Linked DNA regions of Homo sapiens: region 2 is linked to region 1. Evidence: promoter capture Hi-C in human tissues and cell types (Jung and others, 2019). All regions are on one chromosome and are shown on one strand. The core of a region is centred on a gene start or on the middle of the fragment in contact, and the rest is flanking DNA. Distances in the headings are between cores, read along the strand shown.

The links. Contacts are between HindIII fragments. The study calls those that stand out against the background at their distance.
Region 2: a fragment that was not itself captured here is called in contact with the fragment with the promoter of FHDC1 in region 1 in 1 of the 25 tissues and cell types used here (mesendoderm cells).

Annotation. Positions count from the first base shown.
Region 1 is chr4:152,935,064-152,939,749 of GRCh38, reverse strand. It overlaps FHDC1 (FH2 domain containing 1), which reads right to left and starts at 3,427. Exons shown (of 12, transcript NM_001371116.1): 1 at 3,341-3,427. LOC729870 (a long non-coding RNA gene) reads left to right here and starts at 2,913. Exons shown (of 2, transcript NR_136614.1): 1 at 2,913-3,101; 2 at 4,300-4,686. RefSeq lists silencers at 1,790-2,049, 3,382-3,471. The HindIII fragment of the contact is 7,704 bases long and covers 1-4,686 here.
Region 2 is chr4:152,882,702-152,888,020 of GRCh38, reverse strand. ARFIP1 (ARF interacting protein 1) reads right to left here. Exons shown (of 9, transcript NM_001025595.3): 7 at 5,141-5,298. Among named protein-coding and RNA genes, the nearest start is that of FHDC1, 51 kb to the left of the region's middle. The HindIII fragment of the contact is 4,299 bases long and covers 163-4,461 here.

The DNA of each region.
Region 1 (4,686 bases), core at 2,178-4,677:
ATGGCTGGGCTCTGAAGATGGGAATGTCTCCTCAAGTCCCCTGAGTGCTACTCATGACCCATCAGAGTTGTGTTTGAGTGATGGACTCTCCCAAGGAGGCTGTAGCTCAGTTGAGCATCTTTCAACTATGTGAAATTTCAATAAGGCGATGCTGTGATCACGTACTTAACTTTTAGTTAATTGGCAGACAAAAAATCTTAGAACGTTCGTTAAGGGTCTTCAAAGCTGCCCCTGGCCCCCTCCTAAGCTCTCCTGCCTAAACAGCCCGCTGTACTTTTTCCTTGGTGTCAGAAACACCCCTAGAAGTTCTAGTCTCGGCCAGGCGCGGTGGCTCACGCCTGTAATCCCAGCACTTTGGGAAGCCGAGGTGGGCAGATCACGAGGTCAGGAGATCAAGACTATCCTGTCCAACATGGTGAAACCCGTCTCTACTAAAATACACACACACATAAACACACACTCAAACACACACACTGAAACACACACACTCAAACACACACACACAGTAGCTGGGCGTGGTGGCGCGCCTGTAGTCCCAGCTACTTGGGAGGCTGAGGCAGGAGAATCGCTTGAATCAGGGAGTCGGAGGTTGCAGTGAGCCGAGATTACGCCACAGCACTCCAGCGTGGCGACAGAGCCAGACTCCGTCGCAACAACAAAACAACAATAACCAAAAAAAAGACGTTCTAGTCTCTTGAAGGGAGCCAAGAAAAAAGAGTATATAGGCTTCATCTCACAGTGTATTTAAGGGGAGAGCATGTTCCTGGCCGTCAGTTTGGAGCTCAGGGCTTTCCTGAACGAGGACCAGTGGTCCTGGTGCTCAGAATGAGTGGTTCTGCACCAGTGGTCCTGGTGCTCAGAATGAGTGGTTCTGCACCAGCGGTCCTGGTGCTCAGAATGAGTGGTTCTGCACCAGTGGTTCTGGTGCTCAGAATGAGGGTCTTGGTGCTCAGCTGGTCACTCACTCCTTTGGTCAACAATAATCAAAAGGAACATCAAGGAAAACCTGCCAGAAAACCTTTCTCCTTGACTCCTGGCATGTGCCACAGAAGAGGTGGGGGCAGGAAGGGCTGGCCCACATGCTTCTGATGACAAACCAGGGTAGAACAAGCCGAGTTTGGAGAGCAGAGGTAGAGAAACACACAGCCCTATTTTATTGTATTTGGGAGAGAAGAAAAGGATGGGGAAAGTACGGACAATTCTAAACTATGGAATTTTTACTCCCACTCCACTAATTCGGGAAAAGGCTCCTCCACCACCACTTATCTTTCAAAAGCTTTCTTGATTATTAAACACAGAATGTCAGTCGGTACAATTACGCAGTCGGGCCAGAGCCGGACCGTCCAGCTCTTCTGTGAGTTCCGTCTGCCTGTGCTCCAGGCAGTAGTGAAAGAACCCAGGACAACGCGTTCCCAGTAAGCGCCTTCAATCTGCAGCACAATGTAAATATTCATAGGCGCCCGAGACCAACACCCGAGAGCAGAGGAAAAACGCCTGTATTTGAATGTTCATTTTCAGTTTCTCTCACTGTCCCAAAACCAAGAAAAAAAAAAAAAAAAGCACATGCGTGCCAAAGGATGCTCTAGAGAGAGGGAAGGGAGCGCCGGCTGCTCCTTCCAGGAAGACAACTGTGGGTCAGTTGAAGGGGGTCACAGACGGCCGAATCCCGGAGGTCGTTTCTGTCCACACGGAAGTTTGAAAACCGACCATTAAGTCCGGAAGAAATTCGGCCTGGGGGGTCCTGGGACACCACTTCTTTCAAGTTTGGATACGTAGTAGTTCACCAGCTCTCTGCGTTAGACAGCTGTCCGCAGCCTCCTTACATCCCCAACCCGGCACCCCGGTCCCCGCCCGAGCCACTCACCAACAAGCCACCGGCTCAGCCGCCACCGGCTGGGCCGCGAATCCCCGGGGAGCCGCGCTGGGGTCAGCAAACTGAACGCGAGTGGGCGGCCCACGGGCCGCGCGGAGCCCCAGCTGCGTCCTTATCAGCGCCGGGCAGAAGGGCGTCGCGGCGCGAGGGTGGGGCGCCGGTGCGCGCTGAGATCGACGCCCACACGCGCCGCGCCAGCTCTGCGGCGGGGAGAGAAGCCGCGGCCTGCGGGGCGGGGACTGCGGGGCGGGCGCCCAGCGCGGGCGTTGCACGACCCTCGGCCTTCCGCAGCGCCGACCGCTCTCCCGTCCGGCGGCTGCAGCTGCTGGGTCGGCCGCCGCACCCGCTCGCCCATTCCCGGCCCCTCCAGTTGGAGGGGGTCTCGGCCCCGCCCCCCTCCCCGAGGGGCCCACGCTGGAAAGCCCACGCTCCCCACGCCACGCCCCCCAGGGCGCCAGCCCCTCTGCGGGGGTTTAGCACGCTGCGCCCAGAAGTTGGGTGGGAGACGGCTAACTAGGGGAGGTGTCCGTGTGAATGAAACGAAAGGGGGGGTCTTCCGGCTCGCAGACACCGGGTCTGCGGCGGCCGCGCGCTCCCAACCCACCCGGAGCCTCCGCCGCGACATCTTCCCACGTCCCCCATCCAGGTCGCAGGCGCGGGGGAAAAGCCTCACGGCCGCACTGCGGCTCTGCCAAAAGGGAGCCGGGTCGAGCCGCTGAGAAAAACAGAGGGGAGACTCCTGGCGTTTGAAACCGGTCAGAACCCGCTCTCCAAGAGCTGGGGACACCCCTTGTTTGGAGGCTGATCCCCAGCCCACCCGCTTCCTCCCCCTCCCCACACTCCTGCAGGCGCGGGGCGCAACTTGCAATCCGAACTTCGCGCGGCCGGAGCAAGTTTGTCGGGGCGAGAAGCGCCTGGTCCTCGGTCCGCACCACCGCACTAGGTCCCCGCCACCGCCCCACCACTGTGTCAGGGGCCAGGCGTGGCCCCCGGCTGGCTAGGGAACCGAGCGCGGCGCCGCGGCTGCGCATTCCGTGCGGGACGCCGCTGTCTCCCAAGGGTCGGGATAAACTAGGGGGCGGTTGATCTGAAAGTCTTAGCCACGACTAATAGTCAACCGCCCAGGTGCGACCCGCAGCAGCCTTGGCGATGCAGCTCGTTCTCCAGACGCGGGTCCACACCGGCGCGTCCTCGCCTCCAGGGACCGATCGCTGTTCTCCGTGGCCGGGTAAGGGCGGCCGCCAAAGTCACCGGGGTGGATGTGGAGGGAACTGGAACCTCCTCTCCAGCTTTCCCGGTGAGGCTCGGAGGAAGCCGAGACCCGGCACCCATCAGCCGCGCTTCTCGGCGCCTCAGCCTCGGGTCCCGGACAACACCCCAACCCTGACCCTCCCGAGCGGCGGGGCTCCAGCTCCCCGTGTCCCGCGCCGCGGTCGCCCCCGCCTCGGCCGCCCGACCCGCACTCACCCGCGGCCAGCGCGCCCCCGCTCCCGGCGCGCAGACCGCTGCAGCCTCCCGCCGTTGTGTCGGCGTAGCCGCCTCCTCCCGGTCACTGCAGGCCCAGCCAACCCTGAGCGCGAGGGGGCAGGGCGGGGCGGGGCGCAGCGGCAGCCTCAGGTAACAAAGCTGCGGCCTCGCTGCTCCTGGCCGGCCGGGAAGGGCAGCGCGCCCTTTCCTGCTCCGCCCCTCCCTCGCCTCCCCTTCCACCCTACGCGCGCCACCGTCACCGCCACGCGCTCACCTTCACCTGCGCGGGGCCCCGGGGGAGACGCCTCGGGGCACACTGCTTCCCGCACCCGAAGGCTGGTGCGGGGCTAGGCCGGGGGCCACCGAGAGAAGTAGGGGCGGCAGGAGACGGAGATAGCTGGGCTGCCCAGAAGAGCCAGGTGTCCTCGGGGAACGGGCGAGAGGAGGCGCCAAGCTGGCTTCTGAACCTGCAAGTGCCTTTCACAAAGGAGCCTTTGCGACAGCCTCCCAGGCACCCTCTCTTGTGCACACGGGCGCGCACACACTCTTATATACACGCGCGCACACACACACACACACCCGCACACGCCCCCCGACGCACGCGCCAGACCACCCTCTGCCCCAACACTTGCTTCTCCCTGGAGAGCTAGCAGCACTTGGGCGAACTGACCTGTCCCAACCCCTACAGCTGAAACCTGGCTGCGCTAGAGCTTCGCAAAGGTCAGCTCCTCCCTGGGGCCTGCCAAGCTGTAAATTTGTTACCGTTTTTTATTTTGTTTTTGTTTTTAATTCTCAATGATGATGGTAACAGAAACCTTTAGGTTGTATTAAAGCGTAAAAAGACCCCTCAAAAATTTTGCCAGGCCTCATCGAATGAACGCACGCTGTCTGGGAAAGGCACACTCCTCACAGAAAGAAACAGGGGAATCGATTTAATCACATTTTTTTTTTCTTCAAAGTGACTTGGGGCGCCAGTGAGAAGCAAGTAGTCAAAGAAAACATCCCGGGCAAACCGGCTGACCGAAAATCCACTGTCGGGGTAGGGAGGCGCCCTCTACGGGGATGAAGTCATCGCTACCTTTGACTCTTTGATCCTAGATAACCGACCAAGACGTTTCCAGCCTAATGCCTGACGCCTTTTGCTTCCTCCATCCTGGTCCTCAGTCCCTGAACTCCCAGGACAGAATTCCTGACCTCCTTGGTCAAGCCTTGGATCGAGAAAGAGAAACTATTAGTGTAAACAAACCAATCAACCCCAAAACCAAAACTGTGCCTGCCAATAGCCCATTTCTTGGCCATTGATGGTGCATGAAGAGAAATGGATCCAATTAAGAAAATCTTAAAAT
Region 2 (5,319 bases), core at 1,063-3,562, 51 kb after region 1:
TTCTCACACATATTCTACTTGACGCTTTTGAAATCATTATTTCTTTAAAAACAAAGAGCTATTTAAATAAGAACAAAGCTGCTGGTTAATCTCATTAACTATTTCTCTCAAAGCACAGTATTAACTGACAAGTAAAATTTCCAAAATCTAAAAACCAGTTAAAAAAAATAAATGTCAAAACAAGATCAAGGGTAGAATAAATACCCCAAGTGAATTGCTTAGTACTGATTAGGCAAAGCAGGTAAGGACAGCAGACTCTAGAATGGCATACTAAAACTAACGGAAGTGTAAATGGTTCTGAAAAAAGTCTGGGTTAGCAATGCACAACAAAAATGTAATGTGAGTAACACATGTAATTTAAAATTTTCTAGTAGTTACAATGAAATAATAATTAATTTCACCTGTTATCAATATATTTCATTTTACCCAATATATCTAAAATATTAATCATTGTGGCATGTAATCAATGTAACAGAATTATTCATAGGTACTTTACATTTGGAGAGTGGGTAGTGAGTCTTTGAAATCCACTGTGTATTTTACACTTCTATCCCATCTCAATTCAGACTAGCCACATTTCAAGTGCTCACCAGACATGTGTGGCTACTATACTTGACAACACAACTCTAGATGAATTTCTGTAACATCAGTATTCAGAATGTAACAACAGTATCTATTGTAGAGCACTTACCATCCTGTGTTCTGTAAGATGCCTCACTCTGATATTCTCCCCCCATCAACTCAAATAGTTACCCCACCACTGTCATCACTCCAAGATCCCATAACTCCTCATAATAGCTCTATCACAGTGCCTGTCTAAGTATAGTACTATCTTGCTTATTAAACAGTGATTTATCCAGCAGCTTCAACTATTCGGTACTCAGCAAAGAAGAAGCAAAGTGACCTCTAATTTAGTCAAGATCAGAATCACAAAGCTTATACCCTAAAACTAAAGCTCTTTATTTGGAGATATTAGGTGTATAATTCACATCTCCTATTCTGGGAATTAACAATACTTTAAATAACATAATCTATATTGTATATATGACTTGAGAAAGAATACATCAGTCCTTCACACTGATCCTAATTTATTCTTAACTCATACTGAATTTAGCAGTATGAGTTAAGATTTAATTTAATTGGCCTCTTTCAGGGTCAAAAGAGAACCATTCATTCATTCACTGATACACTGATTCATTCAACAATTCTCAAGTGAGCACTTTCCACGTTCCAGGCACTGTGTTAGAAAGTAGAGCTATAAAGATGAACAGATATGTTTATCCTCAAGAAGCTCGCATTCTAGAGGAAGAGAACCTTGTAAACAATTACAACAAAATGAGATAATAAGAACTACCATAAATGAGGGTAAGGTATAATGGAAATCAAGAGGAATAATTATTTAATTAGATATCTGAAAAGGTATCTCAGACAGAATTAAAATACTATAATTAAAATTTGAAGGATGGTAAAAGCTGGCTAGGTGAATTGGGATACAGAAATCAGTAGGATACTCTGATTCTGAAGAGAATAGCATGGACAAAGGCATAGATTTGTAAGATACAATGACACATTTGGGAATTCGGTATGTCAGAATCTGAAGCTGGAACATGACAATGGAAGGAATTAACATTAGACAGGCAGGCAGGATTGAAAGTAAGCAGCCCTACAGGCCATGTTAAAGTGTTTAAATTTAATCCAGTAGGAGAAGTAATGGGAAGCCACTGAAGAATGTTGATCTGACATAAAAATGACATGATTGTATCAGGATAGAAAGATGACCCTGGTGGTAGTGTAAGAGATGGAGGATAGAATAAATGATTAAAAAATCAGGAGCAAGGAAACCTATTAGAAAACGATGGACATATAAGAAATGAGTCACTGAATCAGGACAAAGGCATTGGAGCTAAGGAGACAAATACAAAAGATTTAGGAGGCAAGACTGACTTGGCAATAATAACTAGTTAGTTAAATCCATGGGTTCAGGAGCCAAGCTGAATGACCTCTCTGCCTTTTGGCTCTATTCTTGAGCTGGTTATTTCATCTCTTTGTGCTCCAGTTTTTCAATCTATAAATGTGAACAAAAATCTCCACAAAAACTTCATATAGATAAAACACACAGGATACCTGGTAATAACTGATACCTTTAGAATGCTTATTATTATGGCCAAATTAGAAGAGGGGTATCTAGAAGCAAGCACACTAAAAACAATAGGAAATAAAAGAGAAAAAAGTAGAACTAAATAAATAGTAATACATGGTGATTTAATCTAAGGACAAATATCCTTCAATAGCCTTGGAGCGCATTTCTAAACAACAGTGATTAACTCAAACATATTCAAAGTTATAATACTGACCTTATATTTCTTAATTTTACATTCAGAGTTTGTAGGTGGTACCAAAGTAAAACTTTCCATAATAGCTTCTCTAACAGTGCTCATTACCACCAAGAAGAGAAGCTCACTAAGTTTTCAAAAAGCAACTTCACTTCAAGGTTGCCCGTCTGAACTGAGTCCGTATCAACAAAGTTAGTGACGGTTACTTTATGGCTTATGTAAAACTTCTAGAGAACAGGTGTCCACATCTGAAAAGTCTCGACCACAATTGACTCCCTTGTTGGTGCTGCTGTGGAGAAGTGTTGAATGGGCTGTTACAAGATTTTCTATACATGAAGCACCAGAGGGCTAGGAAATACTTGTACACAATGCATAATAGGGAGGATTAAAAGGCCACTCGGGCATTTGCCTAAATTACCACTTTTTGCACTGATCAAATAGATGACCCTTGCCCTAAAAGTCAGTAAATTCTGGCTTTGACAGAGAAGGAAATTCAGCTACTGAAAAACTTTTAACCTTGGATTCTTTTTGACTATTATCCATCAGTAGGCAAGGTTTTAGTGTTAACAACTAGCCAATTCCACAGCTATTTCATAAACAACAGAAAAGTCAAACCCCAAGCTAAGCTTAATGAATAAGATCATACATTGTAATTTGAATAAAAAAGGATAAATTACGGGATGACATAAAACAAAAACAACATTACTGTTGTTGTTTTTTAAAGTACACACAGAGGCTGTGTAAGGGTTTCCCTTAAGAAACCAGCCACCAAGTACATGTAACTTGATTTATAATTTTGTTCAAAAGTTCCAAATGAACCTATATACTGTATTTTATAATCTGAGATCTTATACCACATTATACTTAGGGCACTAATACTCAGGTATAAGGCCTACTGATAAAATGTGAACCATAGAGAACCAATGGGTTCTTATTTTGCCTTTGAAATTGACTACAAGTGAGCAAACCATTTAACCTCTAGAGTGTTTTCTCCTCTACAAATTAATTATAAACTGTTTAGAAATAAAAGCTGAAGGGAAAGAGATTATTATTAACGAAAATATATTTCAGGATAGGTAGACAATTGCAAAGTAGAGAAACTAGATTCACAAAGTTCTCAACTAGGAGGTGGTGGGGGTATTTTTGGAAGAAAACAATATCCATCTTTAAAACCCATACATGTTAAAACAATCAGAAGGACTAGAAAATATGAATATTTAAAATGATTAGAGATAAAAGAAACAGTACCATTATGAACAAATTAGGACATTATGAACAAGGAACAGAAAAATTTAGAAAAGGATCAAGTAAAACTTATATAAATGAATTTTAAAATTCATATACATAATGAACCCTTTGAAAAATATAATTTCCATGAAAGGATTTACACTGAGACTGAAACACCAATTACTGAGAATGTTATTGAAGAGATTTCCACGGAAGGCTATCTTACTAACAGCTATCCTCACCCTTACCCCTCCATACAACCACAGCTGTTTGACCTTCATTTTCAAGTCAATAAGAATCTCATACTTTAATACTAAATGGAAAATGACAAAATAAACATGGTATGGGACAGAAGCATCTCTTCCTGTGAAAACATCAAAAATTAACTTTTCAAAATGATTTGGGCTTTTACTTAATTGAAGTGTAAGGAAATATATATTTAATAAGCACTCAATTGCAAAAATACTAGATGAGTTTGGAGTTTTTTACAGGTATTTCTCATACCATTAAACTAGGATAAGAGGCCAAAGAGTAAAGTTATCCTTCTAAAAGGTAAAGTTTATCTTCAACTATGCATAAAAAGTATAATGGAAAATAAGAATTTTGAGTGCTCAAAAGAAAAAAACCTCAAAAGGGACTAGAATGATACTTAAATAAAAGGGGTAGGGCATATGGGGAAAAAATTGGGCCTGGAATCAAAAGGTGAAAAAGGCTATTATAGGTCTGCCATATTTTAGACCCTTCAAAATATTTATTAATATATTTATTAATATATATTTTGTTCACCATTTAACAGGATAGTTATGAGACAGGGAAACTGTATATATACATATATATATGAATATGGATATACAAAAACCCATTAAAATAGGATGTATAAAAACACTGCATTATGAACAGTTATCAAAATACAAGTCAAATATTTAATTTATATAAAAGGTAAAATTTGAAAGGGTTTGAAGGCTTGTTATAATCTGGATAAATGGAAGATGACTGATATCCTAACAAACAAAAATCATGGAGGCAAAATGAGCTTATTTATTCAATAGAAACTGAAAGTATGGGTCTGGCTATTGTGGAAGCAGTGGTAATAAGGATGAAAGGTAAATTTAGGCGAGAGTATAGAGGACCATGTAATACCTACCTGGTAGAACATAGGGCCCTGTCCTCTTCTAAAGAAGCCAGAGCTGGGAGATCCTCCATTTCCCTACTCACTAGAAGGCAGGGTTTGGGCACATGACCAAGGCTCAATTAGATAATCTCAAGGCAATGAAGCAAGTATTCATGGGTATTTAGGAAATTATTTATGGTAGCTGTGGCAGCATCAAGTACTAGAGGCACCCAGCATAGGGGTTCTAATTAGATTCTTCTGAGGCTTAACTTGGCTTTGGTTCTTGGTTGTTTCCAGAATCTTGTTCTCTCCCTTTCTGCCAGGTCTGTAGAGGCATCCTATAACTTTCCAGTACATTTTTTTCCTGCCCATATTGGCCAGAGTTGGTTTCTGTTGTTTGTAACCAAAAAATTAACTGAATTATATGCCATCTGTAAAACAGACAACACAGTGAAAATGTATACCTTACCTGGCACTTTCATACTGTTTCACAGTCATTAATGTATCTTCAATGGTTTTATTCACCAAAGTGTTCACACTAGCAATGAAAAAATTAATGGCCCCAAGAAGAGTCTCTCCATTTTTAGCCAGCAGTTTCTGGGTATCGGCATTATAGCCAAATTCTTCCTAAAACAAAGAAGTCACCTT